2 separate regions of the Homo sapiens genome follow, and region 2 is linked to region 1. The links are contacts of gene promoters, found by promoter capture Hi-C in blood cells and fetal thymus (Javierre and others, 2016). All regions are on one chromosome and are shown on one strand. Each heading gives the region's core, a stretch centred on a gene start or on the middle of the fragment in contact. The rest is flanking DNA. Distances are from core to core; before and after follow the strand shown. Region 1 holds the start of SIX4 (SIX homeobox 4). Region 2 has its middle 43 kb from the start of TMEM30B.

Region 1 (4,480 bases), core at 876-3,375:
TTGAAACCAGGAGGGGCAGGTTGCAGTGAGCTGAGATCATGCCACTGCACTTCAGCCTGGGCATCAGAGAGAGACCCTGTCTCAAACAAAAACAAACAAGCAAACAAAAATTCAAGGAAGTTCTGAATCTCAGTTATTGTCCTGAAGCTTGGTACCTAACTGGATGTTTCCAGTGGAGTAGAAACACATGGTCTTGGCCGGGCGCGGTGGCTCACGCCTGTAATCCCAGCACTTTGGGAGATCGAGGCGGGCGGATCACGAGGTCAGGAGATCGAGACCATCCTGGCTAACACGATGAAACCCCATCTCTACTAAAAATATAAAAAATTAGTCGGGCATGGTGGCACGCGCCTGTAGTGCCAGCTACTCAGGAGACTGAGGCAGGAGAATCGCTTGAACCCGGGAGGCAGAGGTTGCAGTGAGCCAAGATCACGCCACTGCACTCCAGCCCGGGCAACAGAGTGAGACTCCATCTCAAAAAATAAATAAATAAATAAATAAATAAATAAGCAAATAAATAATATGGCCTTTTCTGTTGTTATAAATTTTAAATCTACCAGCGATGTCAACACATTAGGGTAATGCAAAAACAAGTTAAATCCTACATCAAATGACATCTTGATTGACCAGCAATAAAATAAAGCCTGTCTACAAAAAAAAAGAAAATCTCACCAAGTTTATCATGACGGCAGGTGACCTAGACAGCTGCTTTGTAATATGCTGAAGTAGGCAGCTATGAGTAGCTGGGAAGCATACACAATACAAGGCCACCCTGAAGCAAAGGTTAGGATGATGTCATTAAAATGTTGAATTTTGAGAGGCCGAGGCGGACGGATCACGAGGTCAGGAGATCGAGACCATCCTGGCTAACGTGGTGAAACCCCGTCTCTACTAAAAAATACAAAAAAAAAAAAAAAAAAAAAATTAGCTGGGCGTGGTGGCGGGCGCCTGTAGTCCCAGCTACTCGGGAGGCTGAGGCAGGAGAATGGCGTGAACCCAGGAGGCGGAGCTTGCAGTGAGCCGAGATCACACCACTGCACTCCAGCCTGGGCGACAGAGCGAGACTCCATCTCGGGGGGAAAAAAAGTTGAATTTTGAGAAAGAGCAGCAGCAGGCAAACCCAACTGACCTACAGTAATCAAAGAAGCAGAAATGGATCATCCCTTTTGGAATTAAGATCTTGTGCAAATTACAAAGGAAAGAGACACAACTGCAAACAACAAAAGACTCTACCCCCACTTCAGCATCAAACCAGAGGGCAATCTGTCTATGCTGTGGAAAAGGGCTTCTGATCCTGCACTGATCTGGATGACACCCGCACATTCAGTGTTTCTAGCCTATCATCGTTAAAAAAGAAATACTCATATACTTACATTAAAAAGTTCATGTAGAAAACTTAAATTTCCATATTTAAAGCTTAGATCTCTTCCACACGACTCATCCAGGATAAACTTATGGTTTAATATTCTACATGTTTAATTATACCATGTTCAACTCAGTTGGGTTGCCAGCCCTCCACGTGGCTTAAGGTTAAGTACATTTTTTGAAGGCTTCTTGTTTTTGTCTTCTCAGTGTGCTATTTATGCTGCTAATTATAAGGTTTTCAAGCATTTTTCCCTCTTTGGAATTTTAATTTACTGTAAATGCTTGCCCCTTAGAACATTTCCTAGTGTCATTTTATTTTTGACCGTTTTGAATACAAAATCCTTGATAAAGACATCCAAAAAGAGGGAGAATGGGGAACAGGGACATACTGGGGGGCTTCTGAATTGTCCTCTGAAGTTTTGTCATCTAGATGCTGAGGGTGGTCTCTTTGTTAAAAATTTAACCATCCAGACCTTAAGGCCACACAATTAATATTCCCTCTGGAATTGTAGGGCCTCTGTTTGAAAGAGTTGTCCAGTTTTCAGGCCACATTAGGTAATTTCCCGCCCAGGAGCGTGGCTTGGAAAGAATGTCGGTGTTTTCCTTCAGGTATAGGTGCCTGGGGGTCAGGAGGGGAGGGAAAGGCGAGGGGTGGAGTGGGAGGCGGGTGATCGACAGGGATAGAAACTGTGTCTCCTCCTCCCTCTGAATGCGAAATAGCCAATGAGGTGGCTAGGCCGGGCCGGCCCGGCCGCCACTGCCATATAGTATGCAGCAACCGGAGGAGTCACGTTGGGGGAACGGCAGAAAGCAGCTATCCGTTTACACTACTTTGCTCTAACAGCTATCTTAATGGTGACTGCGTGGCCGGGGGGAAACCTGATCGGCCAGATACAGCCGAAACCAGGAGGGAGGGAGTGGGCTTTCCGGAGGGGGAGAGGAGGGAGGGAGACGAAGGAGGAGGAGTAAGAGAGGAGGAAAGAAAGAGGAAAAGAGTGCGAGGGAGTGAGGGAGGGAGGAAAATAAACAACAAAAAATGTCCTCTTCCTCCCCCACCGGGCAGATCGCAAGTGCGGCGGACATCAAGCAAGAGAATGGGATGGAAAGCGCCTCGGAAGGGCAGGAGGCGCACCGAGAAGTGGCGGGGGGCGCGGCGGTAGGGCTGAGCCCCCCGGCTCCAGCCCCTTTTCCCCTGGAGCCGGGGGACGCCGCGACCGCTGCCGCCAGGGTGAGCGGAGAGGAAGGGGCAGTGGCGGCGGCGGCGGCCGGAGCGGCGGCGGATCAGGTACAACTCCACTCGGAACTTCTGGGCAGGCACCACCACGCCGCCGCCGCCGCCGCGCAGACCCCGCTGGCCTTCTCGCCCGACCACGTCGCCTGCGTGTGCGAGGCACTGCAGCAGGGGGGCAACCTGGACCGCCTGGCCCGGTTCCTGTGGTCCCTGCCCCAGAGCGACCTGCTACGTGGCAACGAGAGCCTGCTGAAGGCGCGGGCGCTCGTGGCCTTCCACCAGGGCATCTACCCCGAGCTCTACAGCATCCTCGAGAGCCACAGCTTCGAGTCGGCCAACCACCCGCTGCTGCAGCAGCTCTGGTACAAGGCGCGCTACACCGAGGCCGAGCGAGCCCGCGGCCGGCCGCTGGGAGCCGTAGACAAGTACCGGCTGCGCAGGAAATTCCCCCTGCCCCGCACCATCTGGGACGGCGAGGAGACGGTGTATTGTTTCAAGGAGAAGTCGCGCAACGCGCTCAAGGAGCTCTACAAGCAGAATCGCTACCCTTCGCCCGCCGAGAAGCGGCACCTGGCCAAGATCACCGGCCTCTCCCTCACCCAGGTCAGCAACTGGTTCAAGAACCGCCGGCAGCGCGACAGGAACCCCTCCGAGACCCAGTCCAAAAGGTGAGCGCCAACTTTCCTCCTCCTCCCCCTTCCTCTCCCCCACCCCCTTCCCGGCTTTCTTTTCCTCCAAGTGCTCGCAAACATGGCGCTTACCTTCCCCACCAGCCTGGTCCGGCTGCCCACCTCTCCCCGCCCCCTACCTCGCTCCCCGGCCGGCAGAGGTAGGGGGCGGCGGAGGCGGGGGGCGGGGGAACCTCCCTCCTTACCCTCCCCCTCTCCCCCCAGAAGTTTCTGGTCGCCCGCCTAGGTCTCAGTCCCCGCCCCCACCTCGGCTGGTCACTGCTGCCCAGCTTCCCACCCCCATCCCGCTGGCTTTGAAGTTGCCACCCTCTCCCCGTTTCTGGAGGGGCTAACGAAGCAAATGTGGACACCGGCACCGTAGCTCTCCCTGCCGCCCGAGGCCCGCAGAGACTGCCGGCGCCGGCCGGGGTCTGCACCTCCGCGAGGTCACACCGGGCCTGGCGCGCGCGCACGCTCCCGGATCCCCAGGGTTCAGCCGCCCCCCGGGCCTGCGCTGGAGGTCGCGGTGGCTGCTCTGGTGAAGGGAAGAGAGTGTTGTGGGACTGGCGGCGCAGAAGGGGTCTCGGAACGTCGAGGTTTCATATGACAGAGTTAATCATTCACCCTGCCCCTATGGTTCCCTTAGCGGCCGCGGCAACGTGGGGTGCTGGTGCAGCTCGGCTCTGTCATGTTTTGAAACCTGATTCTGAACTCCTTAGGATCGGGTTTCAGCGCAGCCGGGGTAGCAGGGCTGAAGGGCTGCTTCCTCCCTCGGCCCCCGAACGCTGCTTGGCTCCCTCCTGGTACGGTAGTTATGGGTGGGGGGCAGGCCGGCTTACGGCGGGCGGCAGCAAAGGAGTGGGGGCGCTCCCACCCCACTGGGTTTGAGCTTTTTGCCTGGCAGACTGCTTTCCCCCTCTGGTAAAAAAAATACCGGATTTTCCACCTCTTTTGTGCGTCCTCCCGAGTCAGACACTTGGTGTGTGCGTCTGTGTGTTTTGTTGGACGAAACAAAGTAAGGAGAAGGTCGCCTAAAGACCTGGTGTCTCCAGCCCCGCGGGGATAGGAGAGAAAGAATCCAAAAGCAGCTCGAAGGTTCTTCTCGGGGAAGCAAACTGGGAGCCGGGGATCCAGCCCGCCTGCGCCAGGTGAAGGTGATCACCAGCGCATTCCAGAGCCGGTCTCAGCCCGCCCTTGCCGCTTCTGGGCCCCTGTG
Region 2 (4,417 bases), core at 131-2,630, 510 kb before region 1:
CGAACCATTTCCTTTCTAACCGAAAGAGGCTTGAAAAACCAGACTGGCAATCATTGATATGCAAATGCAGATGGCTAGAAACCAGGTCCACCCAACTGGCAGTCCTGCCCTCTTATCCTTGTCACCACGTGTGGCAGGTGCCATGGCCACCTCCAGGTAACACCACATGTGCAGGACTTCATGGCAACTCGCATTTGCGTATTAAAAGCTAGGGTGGGAGGGTTTTTTCGAGGGCTACATGAATGACACAGCTGGTTAAACGAATCCCCTGAGCCCTGTGCAAATCAGACACCGCTTCCTCCAACCTCCCAATATAACCAACTGCTTTCTGCGGCATGTGGGGTTTCTCTGTTTGGAGGCTCCCTCCCTCCCTCTGTACAGGGGAGCTGTTTTCTTCTTTCTTCTTTCTTGCCTATTAAACTTTTTACTCCTTAAAATCACTCCACGTGTGTCCGTGTCAATCTTATCAGTGTGAGACAAAGGACCCACGGTGTTTCTACAGTCACTGGAGCCGTATCACCATGATATGAGGCAGTAGCTGTGTTGCACTCAGTTACTAATGGCAAAACCTCCAGTGAAATTTAGAGATGCATTCAACTCCTGGACAGTTGGTTTGCTGGATGCATAAAGAAATGCAAACTTATAATAAACAACAAAAAAGTAAAATATACAATTGTGTGGTTATTGCTATCTGTAATAGCTAAAATGAAATCAAAAGACAGTGCTGGGTCAGATCTTGATGCTACCCCCAGTGCAGACTTCAGTGAGTTAGAACTTCAGTCATTAGCCTCAGAGCCATCTCCCAGAAAAAATTATGCCAGGACTACAGAAAGCACCTCTAAGACCTGTGTTTACCAAGAAGGTAGTCAGTGTGTGGTAAGGGCAAAACAAAGAAGCTATTGAAACCAGAGGGTTTAGTGTGAAGGAATTGTTTCATTTTGTAGACTGGTATCTGAAAGATTCTCCCCAGAGCCTGAAAGCTTAAGGGAATGAATAACTCCTCCCTTCTCAGGCCCAGTCCCAAGGCGCAAGAGCACATTAGCCTGCTTTAGCAAGATAGCAGAAGCAGGAAGAGAGCTGGCCGGAAGACACGTACCCCCTGAAGAGGGAGAGAGAGGCCATCCGGGTACCTCGAAGCAGTTACATCAGATTGAGACACTTCCTGTTTACAGGAGACTATAAAACCCCTGCCCTGTCCTCATTTGGTGCTGACGCCATTTTAGGCCTCAGCCCACCTGCACCCAGGCGCTCATTAAATCAGCGTGTTGCTCCACACCACCTTGTCTTGTTTGTTGGCCCGCTCTCGGGGTTTGAACCAATACAAGAGCCTTGCAGTATCATCAGCTTCCTGAAGAACCCTTAGTAAAATGGATTGTGACAGTTAACTAATTTAGGGGCAGTATCTTTGGTTTTAAATGCTGCAGGGTGGAAGAGTATGTTTGGGTTGATGCAATATCCACAGCTCGCTATGGAACAGTCATGAACAGGAGGTGATTCCTGAGGGAACAGCGAGCCTGGTGAACTTGATAAAAGCCATTTTAAGGTCTGTTTACTCTGAGGAGGGAGATTGCCTGACTCCACCTAGAAATGCTAATTGGAACACTCCAGTTACAGCAGCTAATATGCTTCATATGCAAGCCATGTGGGACCAGCTTTATAATGACTGGGATATTCACCTGATGAATTATGGTAAATTCTGTTATTCAGGGGGCTCCTTTAATGGAGATCCCCATATAACCGTACTGTTTTGCAAACCCAAAAGAAAGTTCGAGAAGCTTTACCCAGTTTGTTGTCACAGCTTCCCTTCACGGGTCTTACAGATGCTAATGAAAACGTTAGATTAATTAACAAGAGAATGGGGAAAAGACAGAGAAGAGAGTAAAAGAACTTTCCAGGAAGGTGGACATTTTTAAATGGTTATTAAGAAATAAGGTGAATAAAGAAAACATTGATAAAGGTGAAACTAAACGGAAAAAGAGGAGAGTCAGGGGATTTGTCTGAGCAAGGTGGAAATCTTTATATGGTTACCAAGAAATGAGGTGAATAAAATGTAAATGTGTGGGGTCAAAACAAAGCTCTTAAGGTTGGATGGACCAACAGGAGCCCCAGCTGGTCCTGCAACATTAAAGGGCTCCAAACAAGTTTGCTGAATTTACCCTAGTTTGGAGAAATATGAAAAGTTAGGAGGCAAAGATTATAATGAGAAAAATGATCTAAAATTGCCTCAAGCAACACTCAGGCAGATTAATCAAGAAAAAGATTGACAAAAGGGCTGGGGTCCCTTGGCTCAATCTCCTGTCAGGGACCCAAAGGCCTTTTGCACAAGAGTGGGTAAAATGGTCAGGGGTGGAGAATTTCCAGGGCTCCTTGACACAGGAACCCAATGTACTGTGATTTCAAAACCTGTCTGTAAAGTCCTAATGGAGGCTATAGTTAGGAAAGTAAGAGTTGACAGAATTAAGATGTTAAATTAATTTAGTCTAAAGCTGCCTACTTACATAGTTTAAGTTTGGCCTAAAGGTTTCTCCATACATAGTGAACCCTAACCTAACTGGATGTATAAACAGACTGTTACTACTTTGCAACAAGTTGCTGTATCTCAGCCAATCACAGGCAGCCAACTCTTCAAGCCTTGTTTAAACAAGGCAAGTGCCAAGCTGTAACCAATACAGTTGTTTCTATACCTCTGTAAACCAAAAAGTATCTAAGACAAGTCTCAATCAGTTTAGGAGTTTATTTTGCCAAGGTTAAGGACATGCTTCAGGAAGGCCTGACCGCAAGTGCCCAAGATGGTTGGGTTACAGTTTGGTTTTATACATTTTAGGGAGACACAGGACACTAAGACATCAATCAATACATGTAAGGTGTACATTGGTTTGGTCAGGAAAAGGGGGACAACTGGAGGTAAGGGTTGGGGGAGAAAGTTCCAGGTTTCTGGGTCATAGGTGGATTCAAAGATTTTCCGATTGACGATTGATTGAAAGAGTTTATCTAAAGCCCTGAATCCATAGAAAGGAGCGTCTGGGTTAAGATAAGGGGTTGTGGAGACCAAAGTTCTTATTATGCAGATGAAGCCTCCAGGTAACAGGATTCAGAGAGAATAGATTGTAAATGTTTCTTGTCAGACTTAAAAAGCTGTCAGACTCTTAGTTAATTCTCTCCTCGATCAGGATGAAGACCTGGAAAGGGAAAGGAGTTCTCTACAGAATGTAGATTTTTTTCACAAGAGACAGCTTTGTAAGGTCATTTCAAAATATGTCAAAGAAATATATTTTAGGGTAAAATACTTCAATTTCTTTTAGGGCCTGCTATCTGTCATGTGATGCTATACTAGAGTTAGGCTGGAATTTGGTATCTTTTTTTTTTTTTTTTTGAAACAGAGTCTTGCTCTGTCACCCAGGGTGGAGTACAGTGGCATGATCTCAGCTTACTGCAACTTCCACCTCCTGGGTTCAAGCGATTCTTCTGCCTCAGCCTCCCTTGTAGCTGGGACCACAGGCGCTTGCCACTGTTACAGGAAGGGGGTCTGTATCCAGACCCCAAAAAAGGGTTCTTGGATTTCACACAAGAAAGAATTCAGGGCGAGTCCATAGGGTAAAGTGGAAGCAAGTTTATTAAGAAAGTAAAGGAATAAATGAATGTCTGCTCCATAGAGCAGCCCCAAGAGTTGCTGGTTGCCCATTTTTATGGTTATTCCTTGATGATAAACAATGGGTGGATTATTCATGCATCCCCTTTTTAGACCATATAAGGTAACTTCCTGACGTTGCCATGACATTTCTAAACTGTCGTGGTGCTGATGGGTGTGTAGCAGCGAGGACACCAGAGGTCACTCTTGTGGCCATCTTGGTTTTGGTGGGACTGAGCCAGCTTCATTTCTTTTCTTTTTTTTTTTTTTTTTTTTTGTTTTGAGACAGGGTCTTCTCTGTCGCCCAGGCTGGAGTGCAGTGGCGTGATCTCAGCTCGCTGCAACCTCCCCCTCCCAGGTTCAAGCAGTTCTCTGCCTCAGCCTCCCAAGTAGCTGGGATTACAGGCTCCCGCCACCATGCCTGGCTAATTTTTGTATTCCTAGTAGAGACAGGGTTTCACCATCTTGGCCAGGCTGGTCTTGAACTCCTGACCTCATGATCCACCCACCTCAGCCTCCCAAAGTGCTGGGATTACAGGCATGAGCTACTGCGCCCGGTGGAGCCAGCTTCTTTACTGCAACCTGTTTTATCAGCAAGGTCTTTATGACCTGTATCTTGTGCTGACCTCCTAGCTCATCCTGTGACTTAGAATGCCTTAACCATCTGGGAATGCAGTCCAGTAGGTTTCAGCCTCATTTTACCTATCTCCTATTTAAGATGGAGTTGCTCTGCTTCACACGCCTCTGACACTGCTACGCCCAGCTAATTTTTGTAGTTTTAGCAGAGAC

Evidence for each region. Contacts are between HindIII fragments. The CHiCAGO score rates a contact against its expected background, and 5 or more counts as called.
Region 2: a contact is called between a fragment that was not itself captured here and the fragment with the promoter of SIX4 in region 1, in 3 of 17 cell types (endothelial precursors, M0 macrophages and M1 macrophages). The highest score is 10.4, in endothelial precursors.

The regions. Positions count from the first base shown.
Region 1 is chr14:60,721,996-60,726,475 of GRCh38, reverse strand. SIX4 (SIX homeobox 4) reads left to right here and starts at 2,125. Exons shown (of 3, transcript NM_017420.5): 1 at 2,125-3,264. The coding sequence starts at 2,402. RefSeq lists silencers at 2,643-2,712, 3,991-4,060. The HindIII fragment of the contact is 4,809 bases long and covers 1,419-4,480 here.
Region 2 is chr14:61,236,199-61,240,615 of GRCh38, reverse strand. It overlaps a transcript of PRKCH not described here. Among named protein-coding and RNA genes, the nearest start is that of TMEM30B, 43 kb to the left of the region's middle. The HindIII fragment of the contact is 795 bases long and covers 983-1,777 here.